Regions from separate parts of the Homo sapiens genome. Here all the other regions are linked to region 2. The links are contacts of gene promoters, found by promoter capture Hi-C in human tissues and cell types (Jung and others, 2019). All regions are on one chromosome and are shown on one strand. Each heading gives the region's core, a stretch centred on a gene start or on the middle of the fragment in contact. The rest is flanking DNA. Distances are from core to core; before and after follow the strand shown.

Region 1 (3,953 bases), core at 946-3,445, 230 kb after region 2:
TTGGTCAGGAGAGAGAGCCTGGGAGAGAGGAAGCAATTATTTTTAGTATTTACTCTCCCATACATGATTCAGTTGAAAAAGAATATCACCTTTACTGTAAAAATCAACTTTAATACGGGAAATGCTTCTACACATGACAAAATTCTCAGCCTTGGGACACAGAAGCATTAATTAATAATGCTGCTGCTCCATGTTTTCTGTCACCCCCAACCCCAATTCAACAGGAGGCCATGGGGCCAAAGAATTGCCATGCTGGAAGGGATAGGAACCAGCCCTTGGGGAGGCAGCCTTGTGCTCTGGGAACCGACCACTTCCTAACCTCCTGTGCCAGCCAAGGCACAAACCTGCCAGAGTAGGTTGCTCCAAGAGACAAACAGAGTGGACTGTGCCAGGACCCAGGCAAAGTCCTCAACTGCCTGATTCAGCACGGGTATCAGCAAGGGGACCCAACACACTGCTTCCGCCCTCTGGGACTCAGTTTCCCCACCTGTGCAATAATGAGGGAGTTGACCCTTCCAGCCCTGATGTTCTATGACTCTAGGGGCTAGACAAGGGTTGGCAAACTACAGCCTACAGATCCAATCAGGCCCTCAGCTGTTTTTGCATAGCTCCTTAGCTAGGAAGTTTAAAGATATTTTTAAAGAACTATTTTTTTTTAAAAAAAGGAAAGAAAGCCACAAGGAAGGCTATGTGACATAGTCTGTATGTGGCCCACAAGGCCTAAAATACTTACTATTTAGCCTTTTACAGAAAAGGTTTGCCAATGACTTCCCTAGACAATGTTAGATTTGTTCTCCTCTCCATCAGAATTCATAGACCTCTCCGGAACTCTTTGGGATAAGTAGGATTTGTCTGTAGCTGTGCAATAGTTGTTGAATTCTCCCACCTCCACTGTCCTGTAAGCTCCAGGGAGGCTTGTTCATCGATGCCCTCCTAGACCCCAGCACACAATAGATCTTCAGTTACTATTTGCTGAATGACTGAATGAATGAGGTCCAGGCTCTTACATCCTCGCAGCCTATATGCAGCACCCCTCAGGCTGAACACTCACTTCGGCATCATGCAGACTGAAACCATATGCTTATTTTACCCAATTAACCATCACTGAGCACTTTACTAGAACAAGGCTCCATGCTAGGCTGGAGCCCAGGCCTGGCTCTGCCCACCAGGAGCTCACAGTCCAGTAAGAAAGATCAGACACAGACACAAATAACTACAATACAAGATAGGCCACTATTCATACCCTGAAAGGAAGATAGAGAAAGTGCAATGCACACACAAAAGGAAGGGGCAATTAAATCTGAACAGGATTAACAGTTCACTCGATAACTGGGCAAAGCCAGGAAAAGACAATTCACAAAAGGGAACGTACTCCAATAAAACAAATATATGAGAAAGTCTTCAGCCTTACTAGTAACCAGAAAAATGCTAATAAAAATTACGAGATATCTTTTTACGATTATTAAAATAATAAAAAAAATCTATTTCAAGCCATAATGCCCCGTGCTCTCAATGGCACAACGAAAGGCTCTCTTGCACAATGCTGTCGGGTGGGAGTGAAGTTGAATAACTACTTGAAATCAATTTGGCAATAATATCAAACATCACAAAAATGTTCCAACTTTATGACCCAGTCATCCCCCTTCCAAGAATTGGTCCAAAGAAAATAATTCAAGTTAAGGAGAGGTTTATGTGCTAATACACGAGATGACTACAGTAGCAGTTATTTGGAAGCAGTCTAAAACCCAGGATCCCCTTCCTACACAGGCTACCTGGTCCTTTAAAGATCACCACATTAGTGGAATCTGACCCTGCCCCCTTGCTCCACAGGAGGAGCCAGCTCCTGAAAAATAGGGTTAGTCTCTGTTTGGGTGGCTGTGTTGTCACATGTAAAGCTTGGGTATGGTCAGTGGGTATTTTCTGCCACATGGAGAGGAAAAGCAGAGGAAGCCAGTCTGCTGAAGAAGAGGGGAAAATATGAAGCCAAGGCAAGCACCAGTGCCTCAGGCATCTGCACCCAGGTTCCAGGTCCCCGCAGCCCAACATTTCTAACCTTGGTTTCTGCAAGATGCCCCAGCAGCCTCTGCACAAAGATCCCTTTTGCCTAAGCTCTTTTAGGTTGAGTTTCTGTCACTTATAACTATTACTAACATACAATGGAAGAGTGGATAACCATTAACAATTGTGATGTTATGAAGCAACATAGGAAAAAAATAGTTTGACCTAATAAAGGGAGAAAAAGAAAAACAGGCTGGGAGGCTGGGCACAGTAGCTCATACTTGTAATACCAGCATTTAGGGAGGCCAAGGCAGGAGGATTGCTTGAGGCCAGGAGTTCAAGACCAGCCTAAGCAATATAGCAAGAACTCCTCTCTACAAAATAATGGGGGGAAAAAAAAAAGCTGGGCATGGTAGTGCATGCCTGTAGTCTCAGCTAATCAGGAGACTGAGGCAGGAGGATCACTTCAACTCAGGCGATTGGGCTGCAGGGAGCCATAATCCTGCCACTGCACTCCAGCATGGGTGTCACAGAGAGATCCCATTTATATTTTAAAAAATTAGATACAACATTACATGTGCACTACATATACCAATGTATGTGCACAGGGAAACTGGAAAGGGATATATTAAAAGTTGTATCAGTGTCAGCGATGTGATATGAGTGATTATTTCCTCTATGCCCTTACTTGCATTGCTTTTCTTAAAATAAAATTCTGATTGAGGAGATGAGCCATAGACCAAACAACAGTGATGCTAAGTGAACACTGCTTGTTGCCCAGAGAGAGGGTAGATATGGAGCTGGGGAACTCAAGAGAAGGATATCTTTATTACCTCCAGCTGGAGAGATCAGAAAAAAATGACGAAGGAAGCAGCATTTGAAATGGGGTTTCAGCAACAGGAAGGACTTGAACAGGGAGCAAAGTGTGCCAGGTGGGAAAGAAAATTGAGATTGAGAGAAAAGGATAAATGGGCGTGGAAGAGCACCACATTTAGGGAAGGAGGAGACATTCCCTGTGGCAAGAGCAGAGGGTACAAAGTGGAGATCAGTAAGAAATCAGGCCACATTGCAGAGGTTTTAAGCTGGCGACCTTCAGGCCACATTGGCCCAGTTTTTTTTACTCACTGGTGGGGTGATCACATATTTCTAAATTAGGTGCTATGGCTCTCATCTCTAACCCTATCCCCTCTAAATTTGCCTTTTATGATGACAGCTGGGACACTAATATTCTGCTTGGCCTGCTGACGATCTCTTAGCCTCTGCCAACAGGGGGCGCTAGAGAGAGATCACAAGGTGGAAGAGCCAGGGAACCACACAATGAAGGTGGGAGCCCTTCCTGATCTGGCTTTAACTTGTAAGGTTCGATACGCACACGTCATATGATCCAGCAACCCCACTCCTAGGTATGTCTTTGAGAATCTCTTCCATGCGCCCTGGGAGGCATGACCAAGAATGTTCATAGTAGCGTTTCATGATAGCAAAATACTAGAAGCAAACCAAATGCCTAATAGCAAAAGAATAGATAATACGTGGTGTTTTACACAGTGAGATATTACACAGCAGGGAAAATGAATGAACTAAGCTACAGGCATCAACATGGATGAATTTTAGAAACAACGTTAGGTGAAAAAAAGTAATTTACAGAAGACTGTGAATATTTTATTGTAATATCAAACAGTATGATTTTTTTATAAAGTTCAAATGCAAATAAAAGTAAATAATATATGGCTTTGGAATATGAATATATGTGCTAAAACTATCACAAAACAGCCAGGAAATCATAAACACCAAAGCCTGGGTTGTGGTCATTTGTAGGGGAGGTGAGGGCTAGAATAAGAAAGAGGTACCCAGACACATGCAAGAGTACCAGGAAAGTTCTAGTTCCAAAAGTGGATGGTGAGCTCATGGGTGCTAATTTTACTATCATGTTTTGCAATGAATATATGCATTACAAA
Region 2 (4,120 bases), core at 1,068-3,567:
TGGCCGTGCCTCAGAAATTGACCTAGCCCAGCATCCCCCAACCACAGGTCTCAGCATCCCTTTTCAGCTTTCCCAGAGGTGCAGCAAGTCAGGAGGCAGCTGAGAAGAAAAGCTACAACTCTGAAGAGTGTAGACTTCGTTAAAACAACTACTGTTATAAAACTTAAACGGCATATAATACATATTAAATGAAAATTAAACAGAGTGTAGTGTTCCCAGATTAGTTGAAGCAGTTATTCTTCAGTCAGAATTTGAATCTCTCTGCCTTTGATGTCTCATGAGTCTTGCTCCGCCCAGCGGTAAAATGGAATTGCACCTGCCTGTCCCTTCACCCCCAGCCTCTCACCCTCCACCCCTGGGCAGGGAGAGGAACAAAAAACTCAATCAGGAAAGCAAGGCTCCATGTAGGTCCCCGGCCCCATAAAAATCAATGTGATGGGCGTGGTGGCTTACGCTGGTAACGCTTTGGTAGGCCGAAGTGGAAGGACTGCTTGAGGCCAGGAGTTTGAGACCAGCCTGAGCACATAGCAAGAACCGTGTCTCTACAAAAAAACAAAAATAAATTTGCCGAGCATAGTGGTGCATGCCTGTAGTTCTAGCTGCTTGGGAGGCTGAGGTGGGGGCAATCACCTGAGCCCAGGAGGTTGAGGCTGCAGTGAGCCATGATTGTGCCACTGCACTCCAGCCTGGGTAACAGAACAAGACTGTATCTAAAAAAAATAATAATAATCAATGCTGACCAAGAAAGTTTCCCTTCCCCTTGCGGGTGTTAGGAATAATGCTCAAAATCCTAAGGAAATTGAACACTCGAACACAGGATTCTTAGCAAAGCAATTTTACTTCTGCGCAGAGGGATGCCTCCTTGGCCAGTTGCCATGAGAGCACACCTGAACAAAGGGGCACGAGAGCCTTTATTCCTGATGCAAGTCCTGCCCCTGTACCCTTTCCCCATTGGCTGGGGTCAGGTCGTACAATCTAAACTAATCCCGGTTGGCTAAACATTTGATTTATTTTAGATAGAGTGGGCACGTAAAAGAAAGTGGAGAGAAAGGGGAAAGGGTGTCTGTAATGAGCTAGAAAGTTAGTCTTCTTTCCAAATAAGCAAAGGAATGTGAGCTGGTACTGATAACGCTTGGTACTGTGGCATGCCTGGGCATCTAACAAAGGCAAAAAGGAGAAAAATGAAAAAAAAAAAGGGGGGGATACTAAGAATTAAAGAATAAAAGATTGATCAGATTATTTGAAGAGAAACCTCATCATATCCCACAGGGGGAAGCTGAGTCAGCAGATCTGCCAGGGGTGCCCAGGGTTCCATTTAGCTCAGGACTTTGCCATATGCTGGGACACAGCCCCCTTGCCACCAACAGGCCTGGCTCTGAGGGTGAGGAGACCAAAAGGAGGTAGGGGAAAGGGGAGTCACCAACCCATGGGGTAAGGATTGGAGGGGTGAAGCAGTCAGGAGAGGTGGTCATAGGCCAAGGCTGGCAAACCTTTGCAGCCACACCAAGGCCGTTCCTACTCTTGGGGCCTATATGGGGTTCTTGCTGGGGCCTCCACTTGCTGATAGGAAGATCACAGCTCACAGAGCATCATGCTTTACAGTTTGCAGGCTGTCTTCTCACGGGAAATTTGCCAAGCCTCTCTGCAGTCCCTGGGTGGTCAGGGTTGATGATGACCCCCATTCTGGAAGAAGGCTGGGCATCAGAGAGGTTCAGGGACTCACCGAGGACACACAGCAAGAAAGTATAGGAGCCTCACCCCAGACTTCCACAAACCTAGCTTTGCATATCCTCCTGAATACAGGCAATTTTTTACAGTTCACCCACAGCGGGAAGGACCGGACCTTCTCTATCCGCGGGAACTGCAGCGGCGCCCACCTCACCCCTTCTGCGGGGGAAAGGGCGCAACCTTTGGGCTTGTCCAAGCCTCTGGGCTATGGTCAGGGGCCCTCTGTTGAAGTGGGCCGAGTGGGCAGGAGTGTTGAGGTCGAGCTAACGTGGTAAGGTCTGGGGGCGTCTGTGTCCTCGGGGCTCCTGTAGCGTCACCCAGAGGCGGGGGATGGGATTAGGGGACGTGGAGAGAGTCCTACAGTGCAACGGCGGAAAGGCCAGCCCCCAGATGCGGACGCCGCGGCCCAGAGAGGAAAGCCCCCACGCGGAGCCAGGAGCTGCGGCTTCCCGAGGGAGCCGAGGGGAGACCAGCGTTAGTTACCTGCAGCAGGCTCGGGCTCCGGTTCAGGATCACGCTTGGGTTCTGGTTCCGGCCCTCCCAGCTCTGTCCACATGGCCGCCCAGGGCTGGCCGCAGGTCCCGCCTCCGCGCAGCCCGGGGCTCAGCGGCCAATGAGGCTCCGCCTGCGCCTGGGGCGCTGCCTACGTCCTGTCGCCGGCCAAGGCCGCTCCTCCCTCGCCCCGCCCGGTCTTTCCCGGTCCCCGCCCCTCTACCCCCGGCAGCCCGCACCGCTTCAGCGCTCCCTCCCTCGGGTCTCCGCAAGCCCAGTGTCCACGTTGCTCAGATCTAGGCTCCTAAGGCACTGGTTTGGGAGCGGAAACAGAGATACCCAGAGAGGGGCAGGGGCTTCCCCAGGTCACACAGCAAAGTTTTCGGAGACCGAACCCCAACTACACTTTGCATTTCTCCCCGCTGCAAGACGCTGCTTAATCGACTGCCATCCTTGAGACTCCCCTTAACCCCTTCTCTGCCTCGCCTCTCCCTCACTTTTTTTGTCCAGGATTCACTAATTTCTGTCCTCCACTTTCACTGCTCCTTTCTTCAGTTCCTTCAAGAAGATTTTATATTTGGGCATTTTTCAAAGTACATTTTTGTCCTAAGGACAAAAAGAATGTATGCACAGTGTAGAAAGCTTGGAAAACACAGGAAAGGATGAAAAAAGAAGAAAAATATCACCTGTAATCTCTTCACCTACGGTAGCCATTATTACGGTGTTCGTCCTGCTAGTATTGTTTCCTCTGCATCTTTCAAAATTATTTTAATAAAAATAAAATCATATAGTAACCTCTGTTGTGCTGCTTTAAAAAAAATTTAAAAACTTAGCGCTGTATTTTGAAGTTTTCTCCTATCACTAATTACAGATGACATCATCCTCTCCAAGGTGGCATAGAATTCTGTTGTAGGGGTAAACTGTTGGACATTTAATTGTCTCCATTTTGTTGCTATAAAGGTTGCCAAGATGGACCACTGAACATGCATCTCACTCGCTCCACCCTCGCTGCACCTTCCTTCTGGCTAGGGAGGTCCCAAAGCTAACCGCCATGTTTCCCAGCCTCATTTGCAGTTAGAGTTCTGGATGTGGACTAGGTGCTGCCAATTAGTAGTACTCTGCCGGATGTGGAAGGCGGGCACGCATTGGAGGGTATTGTCCTGCCCCTGTAGGGTGGCACTAGCAGGATAGCAGAAATGGGAGATGTTCTGCGGCAGCATTCCTTGTCCCTTCTCCAGCTTTCTGGCTGTGGACCGGCCGCTGTGGCTGTAGCCGCTCCTTGACCTGGCTTCCTGCTCTTTGAATGGAGGCTGCAGGAGGGTGTCTGAAGTAGCCTCAGACAGGCACGAGGCTGGTGGGCCACGTCCATATTGTCCTGAGAGTTGGTCCTGGTCTGGCTAAGGCTTGCTTCTGCCTCCGGCACTTGCAGCAGGTCTGTAAGCACCCAGTTCCTTGTATTAAATCCCTGCCTCTCCACTGATCTAGGGTGCTCACATGCGACTGCTTGGACCTAATTCACTTAGTTCTTTCCTTAAGCTACATCTCTATGGAATCTTTTGCTACCATATCATCCTTAGCATGTTCACAGCCCTTGCTGCAAAAGTTAGCCATCCATGAAGGCACTATGATTGGCATCTTATCACCTTGATGCCCATGCTTTCCTCGGGTTTCTCCAGCAACGGCATGAGCCCCTTGCCAAGGCCCTCCTGCCTCCCCCACAGCACGTGGACAGCCTAGCTCCCCTTGGGCACTTGGCATAGCACTCCAGGACTGATTGACTTAATGATTAACTGACCAATCCTTAAGAGGCCTCATTGATAGAGGGAGTGAGTTTATGGCAAAATGAGTATCAGTCCTCGTGTTAGAGTGCATTGGAAACTGTGGCAGGTCTGAGAGGCCA
Region 3 (3,891 bases), core at 66-2,565, 210 kb after region 2:
AACTCAGGATTCCAGTCCATGACCTTTCAGGTCTTCAGAAGGAGCTAAAGCTGTGTGTTTATTGTTAAGCCTATGAATCATAAATTTTTTGAACCAGAGTGAGTGTTATGATAGACATCTGAGTGAAGCTGTCCATTTTGATGTGGCTATTTTTATTCAAAGGACATGTTAATGTGGTACTTTTAACCCAGGTCATTTGGGGCTATATCAAAATGTAAAAACTGTTTTCTGTGCAAGCCACCTTTAATCCTGCCCTCCTTCCCAGCTTCAATCCACTGCTTGCTCTACTCCCTCCTCGCTATTGTCATTCAACTGCAAAATTTATGGCCTTAGCAAAGCGCCCATAATAAGTGGACCCTAGTAAAAGATCTGTAAATCCACCATTCCTCTCCCAAGGGAAATTTAATAAAAACGAACTCAGATAAAAACACTCATTAAGAATCGAAACAAAGATTGATAGTGTTTAATTTATAATTAATACATGTCTTTCTTTCTCTAGGATATTTGAAAATATTTTATTCTCATGATTTTTGACCAGTATCGAAGTGGTTCCACCAATTCTCGTATTTTAATAATGCCTGTGGTGTCTCTTTTCTTTGTACAAAGAGATTATATTTGAGGTTTCTTTTGGGTTGGTCCTTGGACTGGCAAATTTCCAAATGGCTTTGACTGAGCCATTTGGAAAGCTAATTCTTAGCCATTACCTTTCATTTTCCTTTCACTAGCTGACCTAACATAGGTAGAAATAATGAGGTTTTGTGGGGTTTATTTTTGACAACTTTAGTGGCTTTAAATGTCTTTAGCCCAATTTTTAAATGGTTGCAGATTTTAAGGTGTATTATCTACTAACACATCAAATGGAACCTCTGGGTCTTTAGTTGTCACAAACAGAATCACTTGAGCTGCAAGGAAAAACTTAAACCACTTCTGTTTGGTGTTTTTAACTCTTCATTGGCTAATTTCTTTTTTATTTATTTATTTATTTTTGAGATGGAGTCTTGCTCTGTCGCCCAGGGCTGGAGTGCAATGGCACCATCTCAGCTCACTGCAACCTCCGCCTCCCGGACTCAAGTGATACTCAGCCTCCCAAGTAGCTGGGATTACAGGCATGTGCCACCATGACCTGCTAATTTTTTTTTTTTTTTTTTTTTTTTAGACGGAGTTTCACTCTCGTTGCCCAGGCTGTAGTGCAACGGCACAATCTTGGCTCACTGCAACCTCCACCTCCCAGGTTCAAGTGATTCTCCTGCCTCAGCCTCCCTAGTAGCTGGGATTACAGGCATGTGCCACCACGCCCAGCTAATTTTGTATTCTTAGTAGAGATGGGGTTTCTCCATGTTGGTCAGGCTGGTCTCTAACTCCTGACCTCAGGTGATCTGCCCACCTCGGCCTCCCAAAGTGCTGGGATTACAGGCATGAGCCACCGCACTCGGCTAATTTTTGTATTTTTTTTTAGTAGAGGAGGAGTTTTGCCATGTTGGCCAGACTGGTCTCCAATGTCTAACCTCAGGTAATCCACCCACCTCGGCCTCCCACAGTACTGGGATTATAGGCATGAGCCACTGCATCCAGCCTCCTTGGCTAATTTCTTTTACAGTTTCTTTTCTTTTTTTTTTTTTTTTTACTAAATGGGGGAAAAAATAGTACTCAAGAAGACTGAATAGGTAGCATATAATCTATCCTGCTTCAAATCCATCACTGCAGTTGGCTCATTTTCTTCATCTGTAACAGGGAATAATAATGGTACATAATTCAAGGGTTTGAGCATTCAACTAAGATGCATAAAGTGCATAGCACAGTGCCTTGCACATAATAAATGGTCATTAAATGATAGCTATTTTTGTATTATTATTCTTTAGCACAAAATTAAATCCTAAATGTCTTACTCCCTCCAAAAGGGATTAAATTATGATTTAATTTTATGATTTAATTTGTGGGGACATGCTCTGAAACTGGCATAATGAAAATGGTGCCTTCACAGTGGAGAAAGTTGGAGGAGAAGATTAAAATTAAGTCAACAATAGTGTGATGGGTTGGCATTGTGCACTTCCTGATAGAGCACATGGAGAGCACCCAGCATCATTTTTGTGTAATTCCTGCCAAACCTCATGTTGAAATTTGATCCCCAATGTTGGAGGTGGGTCCCAATGGGAGGTGCTTAGGTCATAGGGGTGGATCCTTCATGAATGGCTTGATGAAGTTCTTGCAATAGTGAATTTTCACTCTACCAGTCCCTACCAGAACTGGTTGTTAAAGAGAGCCTGGCACCTCCCTCCCCTCTGTCTTGCTTCCTCTCTGGCCATGTGATCTCTGTACACTCAGGCTCCCCTTCTCCTTCTGCCATGAGGGGAAGCAGCTTGAGGCCCTTACCAGAAGCAGATAAGCTTCTTGTACAGCCTGTAGAACCATAAGCCAAATAAATCTTTCTTTATAAATTACCCAGCTTTGGGTATTCCTTTTAGCAACACAAACAAACAAGATAGTTTCTCTAAGGATAAGTCTATCAAAGCAGCATAAATAGCCATCCCAAACAAGTATGGCGTTTGTTCTATTGGTTTCTGTGTGGCACCCATGCTAAGGAAATAAAAATGTCTTGTGTGAACAGGTTTCCAAACTACTGCCAAAAATTTTCTTTTGACCTCTTGCTGTGACAAACTGCATTAATGCACTTGTTCATAAAGAGCCACCTTTACATTCCTGTAGTAAAGCTGACTTGGTCATAATGTAGTATTCTTTTAATATACTACTGAATTGAATACTAACACTAAAATTTATATGGGATGTATGCCTCTATGTTCTTAAATGTGTAATCATTGTATTGAACAGTCTGAAGTCAGCAGGGCGTAAACATAAGATGGTTTTGTGGGGTTTTTTGTCCAATTGCTTATCTTCAGACAAATTCTTCCAAATCTCTTCTTCCTGACCCATAATGACATTTGAACAAATCTTATGGATTTGTGGTCACTTTCAATTAACAAAAAGTCCAGGCCAACCTATTACCAGTTTAAAACTTCAGTTACAGCATCAGCAGTACTGTGTCCAAGTGCAAGGATGTCAAGAATGTTTCCTTATCCAAAACTTCCAGGAAGAATTTAGAGCTCAGACAGAACCCCACAGAAGCTCCTTCACAAATGTGCAGAGGATGCAAATAAGTGCCTTTGCTTGCTCTCCGTGGTCAGCATGAGTTTACAGCAGGAATAAGGGCATTCAGAACACCTGGAAGCAATAGACGTCCTTTCGAAAGAACAAGATGATGGTGGCCTCAGGCAGAGAAGCCTGTCTGCTGAGTACAAAGACCATGTGCACCAGTCTAATAACAGTCAAGGGAAGACATTGGTCTCTAGTTTACCAACCACCTAAGGAGGAAGTGAGTGAAATTATCTGAAATGAACCATGCCAAGCCTGGGTACAAAGCAAGATTCTTCATGAGCCTGGACTTGGAGGTCTCTATAGCTATTCCTCCACTCCATGGAGCTACACTCAGCCTGCTCACCCCCATCAAGAGCAGTGTGAAAGGAATGAACTACTGATACACACTGCAAAATGGATAATCCTTGAAAATATGATGTGCGGTAAAAGGAGCCAGTCACGAGTGACAATATACTGTATAATTCCATTCTTATAAAAGTCCAGAATGGGGTCTCTAGAGAAACAGGAAGTAGATTTCTGCTTGCTTATGGCTGGGGGGCAGTGGTTGGAGGATAGAGGAGTAATAGCTAAAAGGTACAGGATTTCTTTCTTTTGAGATAATGAAAATATTCTAAAATTGACTATGATGATGGTTGCACACACCTGTGAATGTACTAAAAAACCATTGAATTGTACATACTGTTAAATGGGTGGATTATATGGTTTGGACATGGTTTGTTTGGCCTCACTAAATCTCATGTT

Evidence for each region. The method cuts DNA at HindIII sites, captures the fragments that hold promoters and counts their contacts. A contact is called where the count stands out against the background at its distance.
Region 1: a contact is called between a fragment that was not itself captured here and the fragment with the promoter of ALDH1B1 in region 2, in 2 of the 25 tissues and cell types used here (lymphoblastoid cells and mesendoderm cells).
Region 3: a fragment that was not itself captured here is called in contact with the fragment with the promoter of ALDH1B1 in region 2 in 1 of the 25 tissues and cell types used here (stomach).

The regions. Positions count from the first base shown.
Region 1 is chr9:38,160,128-38,164,080 of GRCh38, reverse strand. No RefSeq gene overlaps it. Among named protein-coding and RNA genes, the nearest start is that of SHB, 93 kb to the right of the region's middle. The HindIII fragment of the contact is 3,402 bases long and covers 495-3,896 here.
Region 2 is chr9:38,390,899-38,395,018 of GRCh38, reverse strand. ALDH1B1 (aldehyde dehydrogenase 1 family member B1) reads right to left here and starts at 2,317. Exons shown (of 2, transcript NM_000692.5): 1 at 2,212-2,317. RefSeq lists enhancers at 1,841-1,930, 1,971-2,020 and a silencer at 2,231-2,550. The HindIII fragment of the contact is 12,047 bases long and covers 1-4,120 here.
Region 3 is chr9:38,182,618-38,186,508 of GRCh38, reverse strand. No RefSeq gene overlaps it. Among named protein-coding and RNA genes, the nearest start is that of SHB, 120 kb to the right of the region's middle. The HindIII fragment of the contact is 5,311 bases long and covers 1-3,891 here.